2 separate regions of the Homo sapiens genome follow, and region 1 is linked to region 2. Evidence: promoter capture Hi-C in 16 types of primary human blood cells and fetal thymus (Javierre and others, 2016). All regions are on one chromosome and are shown on one strand. The core of a region is centred on a gene start or on the middle of the fragment in contact, and the rest is flanking DNA. Distances in the headings are between cores, read along the strand shown. Region 1 holds the start of CEACAM16-AS1 (CEACAM16, CEACAM19 and PVR antisense RNA 1). Region 2 holds the start of SIGLEC9 (sialic acid binding Ig like lectin 9).

Region 1 (7,188 bases), core at 2,275-4,774, 6.4 Mb after region 2:
GTATTGCTAGGGGAAAATGCAGGCCACAGCAAGACTGTGCACCATTTGCAAAGCGGCCCCCGCCTGTAATCCCAGCACTTTGCAAGGGCAAGGTGGATGGATCACTTGAGCCCAGGAGTTCGAGATCAGCCTGGGCAACGTGGTAAAACCCCGTCTCTACCAAAAATACAAAAATTAGCTGGGCATGGTGGTGCGTGCTTATGGCCCCAGCTACTAGGGCGGCTGAGGTGGGAGGATCATTTGAGTCCAGGATGTGGAAGCAGCAGTGAGCTATGCTGGCACCACTGTACTCCAGCCTGGGTGACAGAGTGAGACCCTGTCTCAAAACAAAACAAAACAAAAAAACGGAAACTGGGAGGTGAGAACAGGACTGGGGAGGGAGGGGCAGAGTCGTGGTGGGGAAGTGACAGCTCACTGCCATTTGGTCCTTTTTGAATTTTGGAACTTGTGAACACCTTACCTTTTCAAAACACACACACAATTCATTCACTCTGCTAACAGGTTTTCCAGGCCCTGCCCTGGTGTTGAACAACTAAGATTCCTGCCCTTGGGGAGCCACAGACTCGTCCATCCATCCAGGAGACAGTCAACAAGACAAGGAAAATACAGCCAATGGTATGTATTTGCTATGGAGAAAAATAAAACTGGTGAGGGAATGAGGGAGATGGAGCATAGGAAGTGGAAGCTGTTGTTTAAATCTGGTGGCCAAGGGAGGCCCTCCAAGGAATGACGTTTGGGGCTAAGACTTGAGTGAGGGGAGGGAATGAACCATGTGGACATCTGGGGGAAGAGTATTCTAGGCAGAGGGAACAGCAAGTGCCAAGGCCCAGAGGTGGGTCGGAACAGCTGTTGGAGGCCAGTGTAGCTGGAGCAGGATGAGCTGGGGGAGAGTGGGAGGATGGGGAGAGGGGAAGGGTGGCAAGGAGATGGCTCAGGATCTTATGAGCCACTGTAGGGACATAGGCTTTTACTCAGAGGGAGATGGGAGCCATGGAGGGTTCTGGGCAGGGGAGGGATAATCTGACTTCATTTTTTATTTTTTTTCGAGATGGAGTCTCGCTCTGTCGCCCAGGCTGGAGTGTAGTGATGCCATCTGGGCTCACTGCAACCTCCGCCTCCCAGGTTCAAGCGATTCTCCTGCCTCAGCCTCCTGAGTAGCTGGAATTACAGGCATGTGCCACCAGGCCCAGCTAATTTTTATATTTTTAAAATAGAGACAGGGTTTCACCACGTTGGTCAGGTACCATGTTGGCCAACTCCTGACCTCAGGTACTCTATCTGCCTCGGCCTCCCAAAGTGCTGGAATTACAGGCATGAGCCACCATGCCCAGGCCAGGTTTTAATTTAATTTAATTTGTTATTATTATTACTGTTTAGAGACAGGGTCTCACTGTGTTGCCCAGGCTGGAGTACAGTGGTGCCATCTTGGCTTACTATAGCCTCGACCTCCTGGGCTCAAGCGATCCTCCCGCCTCAGCCTTCTGATGACTTAGGTGTTAACAGGATCCCTGTGGCTGCATGTGGGGGAAAGACAGGTCCTTGTGGAGGTGCAGCAAGGACCCAGGCAGGGAGTCCCATGAGGAGGTGACTGCATGGTCCGGGCCTTCAGTGATGGTGGCTGGACCAGAGTGGGAACTTTTTTTTTTTTTTGAGACAGAGTCTTGCACTGTCACCCAGGCTGGAGTGCAGTCGCATGATCTTGGCTCACTGCAGCCTCCACCTCCCGGATTCAAGCGATTCTCATGCCTCAGCCTCCTGAGTAGCTGGGATTACAGGCGCATGCCACCACACCCAGCTAAGTTTTGTATTTTTTGTAGAGACGGGTTTTCACCATGTTGCCCAGGCTGGTCTCGAACTCCTGGGCTCAAGTGATCTGCCTGCCTTGGCCTCTCAGAGTGCTGGGATTACAGGCATAAGCCACCTTGCCCAGCCACCATTTTTTTTTTTTTTTTTTGAGGTTGAGTCTCTCTGTGTCGCCCAGGCTGGAGTACAGTGGCGCAATCTCGGCTCACTGCAACCTCTGCCTCTGGGGTTCAATCGGTTCTCGTGACCTCAGGTGATCCACTTACCTCAGCCTCCCAGAGTGCTGGGAAATACAGGTGTAGGCCACCGCGCCCGGCCCTACATCTTTACTTCTTTTGGTCGTGGGGGCTTTTGGAGAGGTACAGGGAACCAGGAGACGGAGGACAGAGAGGACCCAGGGGACCGGGCCTGGCCTGTTTGAGCTGAGACCTGAAGAGCATGGGGAAGTGTTTGAAGGAGGTGAACAAAAGGCTTTATTAGAAAACCAGAAAGGAGGCTGGGCGCGGTGGTGCATACCTGTAGTCCAAGCATTTTGGGAGGCTGAGGCGGGAGGATCGCTTGAGCCCAGGAGTTTAAGACCAGCCTGGGCAATGAGTGAGACCCTATCGCTAAAAAAAAAATTTAAAAATTTACCCAGGTGTGGTGGCATGTGCCTGTAGTCTCAGCTACTCAGGAGACTGAGGTGGGAGGATTGCTTGAGCCCAGGAGGTTGAGGCTGCAGTGAGCTATGATGGCACCACTGCATTCCAGCCTGGGGCCAGAGCAAGACCCTGTCTTAAAAAAAAAAAAAAAAAAAGAAAAAGAAAAGAAAAGAAAGAAAAAGAAAAAAAAATACAAGCAGTGAGTGGTCAGGCTGTGGCTGTGGCACAGCACTTGGCTTTCTCCTGGGGGCACTGGGGAGCCATGGCAGATTCTGACCAGGGGTCAGGGTTGGGTTTCCAAGGACGCCTCTGGGTGTGGTGCGGGCAGGGAGACCAGCTGTGCAGCAAGACACCAGGTGGCCTGGGTTAGGAGGTGGGTCAAAGAGGGAGGGGTGAAGGTTACCAATCATAGATTTAGGAGGCAATTTTCTTGGAAGGAAAGGGTGGGGTGCATGCTGGCTTGCTGGCGCCACTATCAGCCACTGTCCCAAGGTTTTCTTGTGCGTAAACTCATGGAGCGTTCACCACCACCCACTAGGTATCCTCATTGCACAGCTGGGGAAACTGAGGCTGAGAGAGACACACTCGCTGGCCCCAGATCTCACACAGCAGGTTATAGGAGCCAGCATTCAAACTCCTGGAGTCTGACTCCAGAGCTTGGACATTTTCACGCCCCTGACTCCTTAAAGCTGGAGAAGCTGAGGCTCCCAGTTGGGGTGAAGTTCCAGGTTCAAGACCACACAGCCGGGAACTAGAAAGGAAGGATTGAACCCACACCTTACCATGGGACACGGCCCTGCCCATCCCCTCTCCTCCCAGCAGCGTGAGGGCTCGACCTCCGGGGAGTCCCCGTTCTGGGTTGGGCGCCACTCCTCCCTCCCTATCCGCTTCGCGCCCGGAGCTCTCTCCGGACTTTAACCCTGGGCCGCCACTGGTGGCGACGCTGCCGATAAGGGGAGGTGGTTGGTGCAGAGGCCAGCAGGGCAAAATTCCCCTACTCCCGGTGCCAGGGGAGTTACCCAGGTCAGGGGCGGGGGCGGGGGAGGGCAGGGGCAGAGGAGCGGGCGGAGGGGGAGGTGGAGGCATCTGCAGCTGGACAGAGAAGTGGTGCTTTGTTTCTCTGTGCCTCAGTTTCCCTCTTGGTAAAATAGGCATGGTTCCTCCTATGGATGTAAGAAGGACCTAGGAACCTTTGCAAGGGCAGAGGAGTCCGCCCCTCTGGTCTGACTGGGAGACAAGGTGTTCCCCAATCTGATGGTGGGGACAAGGTGGCCCAACACAGTGGGAAAAATAAGGAAACTAAGGAGCTCTCACCAAATCCCATGAGGGAGACAGGACTGTCCAAATCCAATGAAGAAGATAAGAAGCTCCAGTCCTGTGCAGCAAGAACGAGTGTCCAGTCTATATTTCCAGTCTGCCAGGGGAGGTAAGGAGCAACATTCTGATGTGTAAGACAATGTATTTATTTTTGTGAGTCAGAGTCTCGCTCTGTCGCCCAGGCTGGAGTGCAGTGGTGTGATCTTGGCTCACTGCAACCTGTGCCTCCTGGGTTCAAGCGATTCTCCTGCCTCAGCCTCCTGAGTAGCTGGGATTACAGACGCACACCACCACGCCTGGCTAATTTGTTATTTTTAGTAGAGACCGGGTTTCACCGTGTTGGCCAGGTTTGTCTTGAATTTCTGACCTCAGGTGATCCTCCTGCCTCGGCCTCCCAAAGTGCTTGGATTACAGGCGGGAGCCACTGCACCTGGCCAGGAGTGATACTTTGATGTGTGAGACAATGCAGTTCTAATTTGATGGGGGAGATGGGTAGTCCTAGTCTGATGGGGGTGTTGAAGGGCTCCCATGCCTTCTGGGAGAGCTGATGAGCTTCCAAATGAATGATAGAAATGGGGAGCCCCTCAAACTGGTGGGGAGACAAAGAGCCTGCTAGTCTGATGAGGGAGGTAAGAATCTTCCTGTCTGAAGTGGGAGCCAGGGTGCTCCCGTCTGAGATTCCAAGGTGAGGAAAGAGACGAAGAACATACTCACTGCAGCTCAGCCAGCTCCTTCCTGAGCCTGGGAGTCAAATGGCCCCAGGATGCCTGGCCAGGGAGCCAGGACCAAAAGACAGAGACGATTTGCTCTCCTGACCCAGGGGCAGTTCTGCCCAGCTCTGGGCCTGATCTACTTTTGGCAAAAAAAGACCTGGCTGGTGGTGTACGGGCACCACCTAGCGGTTGCCATGGGCACGCCTTCCATCCGGAGCTTGGGGAGAGCAGCTCCTTGGAAGACCAGAGAAGGGCTCCTTGGACTCTCTCCCTGGGACCTGGGTCCAAGTACCAAACTACCCCTGAAACTGGATTCTGTGCATCATTCCATTCACCCTGCATGTGGCAGCTGGGGGAGTCTCTTGGAAGTACAAGCCTACCTCTGTCTGTCCCTTGCTCACAACTCTGCAGTGGCTCCCTGGTGCCCTGGGAGGAAGTCCACACCCGGCCACAAGGCTGGCTTCTTCTGAACAACCCTATGCTTCAGTTGAACAATAAGTAGTTTCTCAAAGGTGTCATATGCAAAACTTACCTTCAGGCCTTCGCACAGGCTGTTCCCTCTGCCAGGAACACCCTTCCCTGCCTCTTCCCCAGCATCTCTCCTACTCCTCCTTCAGGTCTTGGAGTAGATGTCTCCGCCCTCGTGAGCCCCCTGGTCAGGGTCATGGTCTGGTGGGGCTGTCGTGGTCACTGCTGTGTTCCCCTGGGGCCTGACACTGACAATGCACTCCAGGGAATGTTTATGGAATGAATGAGTGAATGAATGAATGAATGAATGAATGCCAAGCTAAAGAGTTTGCCAGGGCAGCTGTAGGAGAGTTTAATCAGGGCCAGGACACGATCGGATTTAGAAGCCCCTAGGCTCCCCCCAGCTTTTTTTTTTTTTGAGAGAGAGGGATGGAATCTGACTTCGTCGCCAGTGCAGTGGCGTGATCTTGGCTCACTGCAATCTCTACCTCCCAAGTTCAGGCAATTCTCGTGCCTCAGCCTGCCAGGTAGCTAGGATTATGGGTGCACGCCACCACGCCTGGCTAATTTTTGTATTTTAATAGAGACAGGGTTTCACCATGTTGGCCAGGCTGGTCTTGAACTCCTGACCTCAGATGATCCGCCCGCCTCGGCCTCCCAGAGTGCTGGGAATACAGGCATGAGCCACTGCGCCTTGCTGGAGCCCCTAGGTTTCCTCTCAACCCTAGGCTTTTGCACATACTCTTCCCTCTCCCTGCACTATTTACACCTAGTAACTCCCACTCATCCTCTAGGTATCAGATGAGCTGTCCCTTCCTCCAGGAAGCCCTCCTTGACCCCAGGCTGGGTCAGGCATGCGCTCTGAGCTCCTGCAGCCTCCTGGGCTCCTCCATCCCAGGCTGTGAACACTGCTGGGCTATTATTACCTGGGGACAAGTCTGCCTTCCCACTGGATCTGGGAGGGCAGGCTGGGTTCTGTTCACCCTCTCTGCCTTCTCCTCTGAGCTAACAACATCTGCTAGGACCTGGGTTCAAATCCAGATGCCCCTATCTTTGGAGCTCCTTAGGTGAGTGTGGGCCTCTCTTGGAGCCCCTGTTTTCTCGTGTGAAATGTGGGGAGAATGAGAAGCGTGCATGGAAAACCTCCCAGGGCTGTGGTGGGTGCAGTGAAGAGACGAGATCCTGAAGTCCCGAGCTGACCATGAGCCGGGTGACTACGGGTGACCCACTTCCCCTTTTGGGGTTCATCTGGCTGGATGAACGGTAGCAGCAGCCCCTTCCTGCCGGGACATTCTGGGAGGCCCGCTCGGGGCTTCCCGAGGTGGGAGGGTCAGGGACAGGCTGAGGGAAGAGGTGTCTGTTGGGTTAGGGGAAAACCAGTCTTCCCCATCATGAAACGGATGATGGGGGGGAAACAAACAAAGCTGGCTCCACCACGGCGTGAGGGGAAGTTGGGGGAGAGGATGAGGGGGCCCCATGAGGTGGGTGAAAACCACAGTCCACAACTTGTCGCCAACTTCCCGCCTGGAGCCTGTGTGCCTCGGGTGAGGCTCCCTCCTCATTGGCCTCAAACAAGACCTATCTTCATTCCAATCTCCAACCCAGCCCTGCCTGCAGCCTTCTGGCCTCAGAAATGGCAGCTTCATCCTTGCAGTGGCTCAGGCTCAAAGCTTGGAGACCCCTGACTCTTCTTGTCCCTCGCTTTACAATTCTGCCCCCAACAGTCTCTTTCCACCTCATGGCCAGAGGGATCCTGTTAGAACCTGAATCAGGGCCGGGCATGATGGCTCACACCTGCAATCCTAGCACTTTGGGAGGCTGAGGCAGGTGGATCACCTGAGGTCAGGAGTTCAAGACCAGCCTGGCCAACATGGCAAAACCCCGTCTCTACTAAAAATACAAAAATTAGCTTGGCGTGGTAGTGCATGCCTGTAATCCCAGCTACTCAGGAGGCTGAGGTAGGAGAATCACTTGAACCCCGGAGGCAGAGGTTACAGTGAGCTGAGTGGGCACCATTGCACTTCAGCCTGGGAGACAAGAGTGAAACTCTGTCTCAAAAAACAAAACAAAACAAAACAACAACAAAATTAGCTGGGTGAGTTGGCACATGCCTATAATCCCAGCTACTGGGAAGGCTGAGGCAGGAGAATCACTTGAACCCAGGAGGCGGGGGTTGTAGTGAGCCGAGATTGCGCCACTGCACTGCAGCCTGGGCGACAGAGCAAGTCTCCATCTAAAAAAAAAAA
Region 2 (7,557 bases), core at 3,212-5,711:
TAACACAGTGAAACCCCGTCTCTACTAAAAATACAAAAAAATTAGCTGGGCGTGGTGGCAGGCGCCTGTAGTCCCAGCTACTCCGGAGGCTGAGGCAGGAGAATGGCTTGAACCCGGAAGGTGGAAGTTGCAGTGAGCAGAGATCGCACCACTGCACTCCAGCCTGGGCGACAGAGCAAGACTCTGTCTCAAAAACAACAACAACAAAAAAAAAAAAAAACAAAAAAAGTCAGAATGTGCACTGCTGCAGGCTATAGAGTTTGGGATTTTTACTCTAGATCAGGGGTTGTCAAACTACAGTATCTGAGTCATATCCAGCCCACTCTTTATGTTTGTGAATAGTTTTATTGGCACACAGCCATATTCATTTGTTTACACAGGGTATATGGCTTCTTTCTTGCTACAACAGCAGATTTGAGGAGCTGCAATGAGACTGTGTGGCCCATGAAGCCGAAAATAGTTTCTATCTGTCCCTGACAGATAGTATTTGCTGGCTTCTGCTCTAAACGGTATTGAGGGGTGGGGGAACAGCTGTTCAAATGCAGAGGAACTGGACGATGATGTCTTCTGGACAGTCCCCCCAGGCAGGAAAGGAGAGGAGACAGGCAGACAGGTGAGGGAACAAAAGACAGAGATCCTCAGGCCTCAGCAATGAAGGGTCAGGATAGGGAGCAGAGACAATAAAAGCTGTTCTTAGGGGAGGAAACCAACCAAACATTGTGATTTGGGGCTACAGAGAAGAAAGGAAGAACAGAGAGGAGGTAACTTTGGCTACGCCCAGCTGATTAGTCCTGGGGGTCATCCTGTGGGAGGTGTCCAGGCTACATGCTGGCTGTGGAGAGTCCACATCACTCACCTGAGAGGCTGAACCCCTGACAGCGTTTGCATCCTCTATGCCCGTATCTCCCACGCCCGCTGCTGGCCTTGCCGATTTCTTCCTGCAGGACCTCACTCTGAGTGAAGAGACCAGAGAGCCTTTCAGTGTGGTCAGATTGGGGTGCGGTGGGCAGACCAGGTACCCCCATGTGTTTCCTATTAAGGGACTGCAGGGGTGACTGAGGTGGGAAAGCAGTGGTCCAGTCTTAGAGACCCCAAGGTTGAGAACAGAGGCTCTCTTCTCCTGGACAGTGGGTACCAAGGTTTGCCACAGACTCAAAGCTCCTCAAACACAGGCCCACATGGAATTCTCACCATGCACCTGTGACCTCCTTCTTGCCCCAAGCTCTTGACCCATCCAGGTCCCTCCAGCTCTGGCTTCAGGGATCCAGCTTCCAGCCTGTCCTCCCCCAGGGCTCTCCCTCCCTCCCTCTCTAGGGTCCATGCTTACACAACGAAGATGACGCAGAAGGACAGGAAGACCAGGGCTGTGGCTCCAGCTCCCCCGACCACCCCCTGAGTCACTCCTGATGTGGCTTTGCCTGTTGACAGATGGGAGTTATTTTTGTGATATATCATAGAGAATTGGGTCTCTTCTCCTCCCACTTCCTGTAGGGTCCTAGACTTCTATTTCCACTTCCCCTTTCCAGACACAAAGAACAGGAATGAGAGAGAGCAGGACATGGAGAGACTCTTCCTGAGGCCAGTGAGGCGTGCAAGTGCCAGCCATTCCTTTTGGGGTTTTTTTTCACAATTTTAATATTTTATCCATTAATGAATTTGTTTTGCATTCAATTTTTACTTTTTTTAAAAGATTATTGCATTGCAATATGATTTCATTTGATTGCTGACTTGCTGGGCTTTTTCTTTTTTTTAATTTGATGCTCAAAGCAAGTATCTCAGTTGTGTGACTCCAGTTCAGCCCTGCAAAGAAAGGCGCTTGTCTCCCTAAACACACCTGTCCGGCCCCATCCTGTCCCCTCTGAGATCCACTCCTGCCCTCTCCCCACCCCACAACCCTTCCCTGGCAGGAAGAGGACAGTGGTGCTGTGGGTCCCAGGGAAGTTCCAGACCTCACAGCTGAGCACAGACCAGAGCGGAGCTCCTCTCTGAAGGTCCACGCTCAGCAGTTACTAAGGGTGGAGGAGGTGTGTTCTCCTCTCCAGCCCCTCCCCAGCATACTGGTGCACTCACTCTGCAGGGAGACGTTCAGGTAGACCTGCTGAGAGCCGAGAGGGTTCTGAGCTCTGCAGGTGAATTCAGCTGCATCCCTCAGGTGCACCCAAGGCAGCTCCAGCACCCCCGGGTTTGAGGGCTGTGAGGGGCACAGGGTCAGGCCTCTCCAGCTCAGGCTCAGCCTGGCAGGGGGATTGCTGTCAACTGCATCAACTGCACAGACCAGGCGCAGAGACTGGCCCTCTGGGAGTGACAGAGATGAGCCATTTCCCAAGACTGTGGATACTGTAGAAAAAGAGACAGAGGGTCAGAGAGATACATAGATCTGGAGAAAAAGGAAGGATACAGAAAGAGACTGATGACAGCAACTGACACACAGACATAGACTGAAGTTCTGGAAACACACACTTTCACCACTCACTGCTGGGAATGTAAACTTCTCCCCGCTTCATCGAGAACAGTTTGGGCTTATCTTTCAAAATAAGAAAGAACATATAATGTAGCTACATTTTGCTTTTAGGAACTTAACCCACAGGCTTAGATATTCCTGTGGAAGTAGATACAAGATTGTTCTATCCTGCCGTAGGATGAAATTAGTGCCGTGATCTTCCATTAGGAGATGCCACAAAATCAGAGTCCATCCATGCAGTGGACTCACACACAGCCCTAGAGGAGGGTGCGGACAGTCTCACTACGGACGTCAAACCACCTCTGAGATCCTCCAGGTGTACAAACCGAGACTCAGGGCAGCCTGGATGGACAGTGGTTGGTTCTGGGGAGGGGGGCAGGCATCGGAGGAGAGCCTTTGCTCTGCAATTTGAATTTTTGCCCATGGACATTTATCACCTGTCCAGAAGTACTTAGATCAGAACTATCAGAAATAAACAGATAAGGGTGGAGATGTATTCAGGAGATACATGAGAAGGAGCCTCAAAGCCTGGTCCTGCTGTGTGAATGCCACCCTCTTCTTGTTTGAGGCTGAGGGGGGGGTGTGTGGGGGAGTCCAAGGGAGGTGATGGGAGGATGGGAACAAGTGGCCTTGGGGCCTAAGGATACAGAGGGGCCCTGAGTTCACCCACAAGGACATCCCTGTTTGCCAAAGTGAGTCCAGGTTGAGGAATAAGCCAGCCCCATCCTGACCTGAAGGCCCTGCTCCTCCAGCCCCAGGGAGGGAGCTCCATCCTACCTGTGCCGTCTCCTTGGAAGACAGTCATGGTCAAGTTCTGAGGCGGGTCTGGGACAGAAAGACATGGAGACCCGCATCACTGTGAGGGCTGGGGACACTGGCCCTGTCTGTCCCCAGGAGCCGCATAAACAGGGAAGGCAGAGCCAGTGTCCTCCTGACCCCACCACCAGCCCAGATTCCGGGACCCAGCACCCAGTGTCCAGGCTTGACGCTCACCCCATCAGGGACCCAGGCGTCCCGGCCCAGCACTCACAGGACACGTTGAGATGGACGGTCTTGTTCGTGGTCACGCTGGCCCCAGGGAAGGTCACCTGACAGGTGAGGCTGGTGCCATGGTCCTGGGGCTGTGGGATGAGGGTGAGCACCGAGGAGCGGGTGGTGGAGGGGTCCAGGGGGGACACGGAGGTCCCTATCCAGGAGATCATAGGGGGTGTCCCCTGCTCACAGGCCCAGGGCACAGAGCAGGTCAGATTCTGGGGGCAGCCGGACTCCAGGGTGCCTGGGATGAGGATGTTGGGCCTGTGGGTCAAGGCTGGTGAAGAGAGGGGGACTCAGGATCAGGTCAGAGGATCCATGGTGCAGCCCTGGGGGGAGCTCAGGCTCTGGTCCAGCTCCTGCCCTGAGCCAACTCGCTTCACCCTAAGCCCTCTCCTGGGGCAGGGGCTCCATCCCAGCCTTTCCCTGCCGCCCCCATGACCTTTCCCTGTGGCCTTTCCTGGAGCCTGTGCCTTACCTGTCACATTCACAGAGAGCCGGTGATGTTTATAATTCCATTTTATACTTCCTTTCTCCATACGAAAGAAGTATCTCCCCGCATCACTTCTTCTGGCATCTCTGATGCTCAGGGTGCAATTCTTGGTATGTGGGTCCCCAAGGAGGTGGAATCGGTCCCGAGTCTCCTCCCACACTGCCCGAGCTGGGTTGTTTGTGGCCACTGGAGCATCCTGGTCTGTATTGGCCCCTTCCCGGAACCAGTAGCCATGAACTACTGGGCCAGGGTAAATCCAGCCATGCGAGGGGTAGGAGAAGGAGCAGGGCACATGGACACACAGGCCTTCCTGCACCGTCACGGAACTCTGCATCGTCAGCAGTTTACTTGTCTGTCCTTCCGCCCTCTCCCTCCCCCAGAGCAGGGGCAGCAGCAGCAGCAGCATGTCTGGGGTTAGAGGTGCCAGGGCCGCGAGGGAACGTCTGTTCCTCAGGGTTCTTCTCTCAGGAACTGCGGGCTCAAGACTTAGAGGAGGCCCTACAGGAAGACAGGGGCGAGGTCGGAACAGTGACCTCCTCAGAGGAGGAACTTTACACCCAGACACTGTCAGGCCCGGGTCAGCCCTGGGAGATCCACCGTCCACCACCCCATGTTCACTCCTGGGTCCCTGAGGCCAGAGCGGGAGACAGACTCACCCAGATTCCCACCCCATGCAGGGCCCACCCCACCTCCTGCCTCCCTCTCAATGCCCTTCCCCTTAGGTGACATTTTCTGCAGGGTGAAAATGAGTCCCATCTGGCCAGACCCCTGAGTCAGAGGCTGTGGATATCTGCGTAGCTCAGAGGTGGGACTTGGGGCCATGAGAGATGGGGGTGCAGGTGGGGTGAGCAGGCAGCCTCTCATCCCCCCCAAGCAAGCACGAGGTGGGCACCCCCTTTCTGCACAACGAGGTCAACACAGCAGAGCTGGACACTGTCCCCAAGGGGTCACTGTGCGGAGGGGAGACATGGAGGCTCCTGACGTCTGAGCTGTCCACGGCAGGAGCTTCAGTTGGGGGGCACAGGCAGGATGGGGTCACTCTCCCGTAGGTCAGGGGTTCAATCTCAGGAGGACTGAGCAGAGGGACATGGGGCTGTGGAGGTGAGGATTCTATGTGTTGATACACGCCAAGGACACAGAGGGGAGCCTGGCTCGCAGGAGGTCTGGGAAACTGAGGCTGTGACTGTTGTACTGTGGGGCTTGGAAGGGAGGAAATTCGGAAGAAAAGGGGCAGATTTCAAAAGGGAAGATATTTCTCCTTTCCTCACTGCACCACGAAGGGTTTCTTCACCACCGATGTCTCGCTCAGCCACACTTCCCTGGTTACTCCAGAACATGAGGGATCAGCTGGCCCTGGGGCTTTGCTTCTGCAAGCTCTGCTCCCAGGGGTCCCGGTGAACAGGAGATGTGGAGTGAGGACACCAGCCCCGGGGCATGCACCCTCCGCGATGGGCAGGATTTCATGGGAGAAGAAACATGCACCTGAATTCAGCAGAAGATTTTTTGTAACTGTGTGGCTGGGCTGGGAGGAACTGGGAGTATCCTGTGTGGTGGAGCCTCCTTAGACCGATGTCAGTTTTCTAGAAATATTTTTGGGAGAAATATAAGCCATATAGATAAAAATGTCTTCCCCCCAAGAAAAAATCTCAGCGGTTTACACATATGAACATGCTTAGAGAAACAGAACACTGGGGATGCCGCAACACCTCCTCTTTGTTACCCCACTTCCTGTCAGCCACACCCCACTTCCTCCTGAAGCAGCCCCAGCCTCACTTTAACGCTAATGGTCTCCATGCTTTTCTAGGTAGTTTTATCATCTGTGCACGTTGCCGTGAATACCTCAGGCCCCCATGTTTGCCCAGTCGCTCCCTGGGAAGTTGCAGCATCTCAACTGCAATGGTCAGAAGGGCTGAGCCATGGCTGACAGTGTTGTCCTGCATCTGTTCTGCAGGGCTGGGTGTCCACATCTGAGTTCTGTCTTGAGCAGGAGGGGCTCAGTCAGGCCTCTCAGCACTGCTCCCCTGGGGCCCTCCACACCTGCAGAGCCAACACGGGCCTCAGATTAGCATCGGCCACTTCAATTCTAACTCAGGCGGGACAGGACAGCTCAGCCCCACCTGGAACTCGGGGAACAATCCTTCGGCTTCCCTAGAAAAGAGCAGGCCTGCTCACCTGGAGTAGTAGCTCCAGGTGAGGCCATGGGGGTTGGGGGGAAGCCAGTGCCCAGGATGGCCCCCTGATCAGGTGAGAACCAGGGGCCAGAAGCCCTCCTGCTTTTCACTCACACATCTGTAGCCAGAGGGGCTTCCTGGGAAAGGGTAGAAGCGTGTGAGATTCTGTTCCCAGGCCTCCACCCCTCTGACAGCCCAAACACCCGACTAGGCTGCCTGCCTCAGCAGCTGTCCTGCAACTCACTCTGCACAGAGGCTCAGGGAAATGTGCTGAAATCGCAGTGGGTGGTGAGCCCAACAGGTCAATGCTCCTCCGTCCCAGCCCCTATCTGAGGCAGCTCCAGGCCCCCGGGTGCTGAGAGCTGGGAGGAATTCAGTGTTCTTCCCTCTCAGGACCAGCTCAGCCGGGCGGGGTTGGGAGGTGGGGTGCTGTCAGCCACACAGACCACAGGGACTCTCCCTCCAGGACAGGCAGTGGTGTACCATTGTTCAGGGTCTTTGGGGCTGGACGAAAAAAACAGAGAAAGCAGGAAGAGTGGTGCTGAGAGGTCGGTTTCTCCCTTACCTCCCATTCGGAATGAGACAGAAGACACATGACTGTTTGACTCATGCTTTTTTTTTTTTTTTTTGAGATGGAGTCTTGCTCTGTCACCCAGGCTAGAGTACAGTGCCGTGATCTCAGCTCACTGCAAGCTCCGCCTCCCACGTTCAAGCGATTCTCCTGCCTCAGCCTCCTGAGTAGCTGGGATTACAGGCATGTGCCGCCACGCCAGGTTAATTTTTGTATTTTTAGTAGAGACGGGATTTCACCATGTTGGTCAGGCTGGTCTTGAACTCCTGACCTCGTGATCTGCCCACCTCAGCCTCCCAAAGTGCTGGCATTACAAGCGTGAGCCACCAAGCCTGGCCCGGCTCATGCTCTTATGTACACAAATCCCGGAGTCCACGCTAGCTGACAGACCCTGGAGGGAAGGAGGCTGAACTGAGATTGGAAGGGGGAGTGGGTCATATTGACGCAAGACAGACAGGCATCACAAGTGAAGGACGAGGGATGTGCAAAGGCTCTGAAACAGTCTGGCAGATGAAGAGACCTGCACATATATCTGGGGTCTTCCAAGGGGACATGGAGGTGTTGGGGCATGACCAGCTGAGGAGCTTAGACTGAGGGTGCCGAGGAGTCACAGGGGACTCTGGGCCAGGAAGGGGTGGGGCTGGTACTGGGTACAGGAAGGTCTTTCTGGGCTTGTGCTATCAGGGGCACAGCATGAAGGGAAGATGGGAGGCTGGGGAGGGGCATGGAACAATGATCAAGACAGCAAAGAGGCTGGGTGCGGCGGCTCAGATCTGTAACCCCAGCACTTTGGGAGGCCAAGGCGGTTGGATCACCTGAGGTCAAGGAG

Evidence for each region. The method cuts DNA at HindIII sites, captures the fragments that hold promoters and counts their contacts. A CHiCAGO score of 5 or more calls a contact.
Region 1: the fragment with the promoter of CEACAM16-AS1 here is called in contact with the fragment with the promoter of SIGLEC9 in region 2 in 1 of 17 cell types (activated CD4 T cells); the score reaches 7.1 in activated CD4 T cells.

Annotation. Positions count from the first base shown.
Region 1 is chr19:44,721,519-44,728,706 of GRCh38, reverse strand. CEACAM16-AS1 (CEACAM16, CEACAM19 and PVR antisense RNA 1) reads left to right here and starts at 3,524. Exons shown (of 2, transcript NR_186815.1): 1 at 3,524-3,870. RefSeq lists enhancers at 5,886-5,945, 6,016-6,125, 6,256-6,405. The HindIII fragment of the contact is 7,565 bases long and covers 1-6,614 here.
Region 2 is chr19:51,121,810-51,129,366 of GRCh38, reverse strand. SIGLEC9 (sialic acid binding Ig like lectin 9) reads right to left here and starts at 4,461. Exons shown (of 7, transcript NM_014441.3): 1 at 3,972-4,461; 2 at 3,492-3,770; 3 at 3,239-3,286; 4 at 2,071-2,337; 5 at 1,328-1,418; 6 at 857-953. The coding sequence starts at 4,392. RefSeq lists an enhancer at 391-440. The HindIII fragment of the contact is 17,590 bases long and covers 1-7,557 here.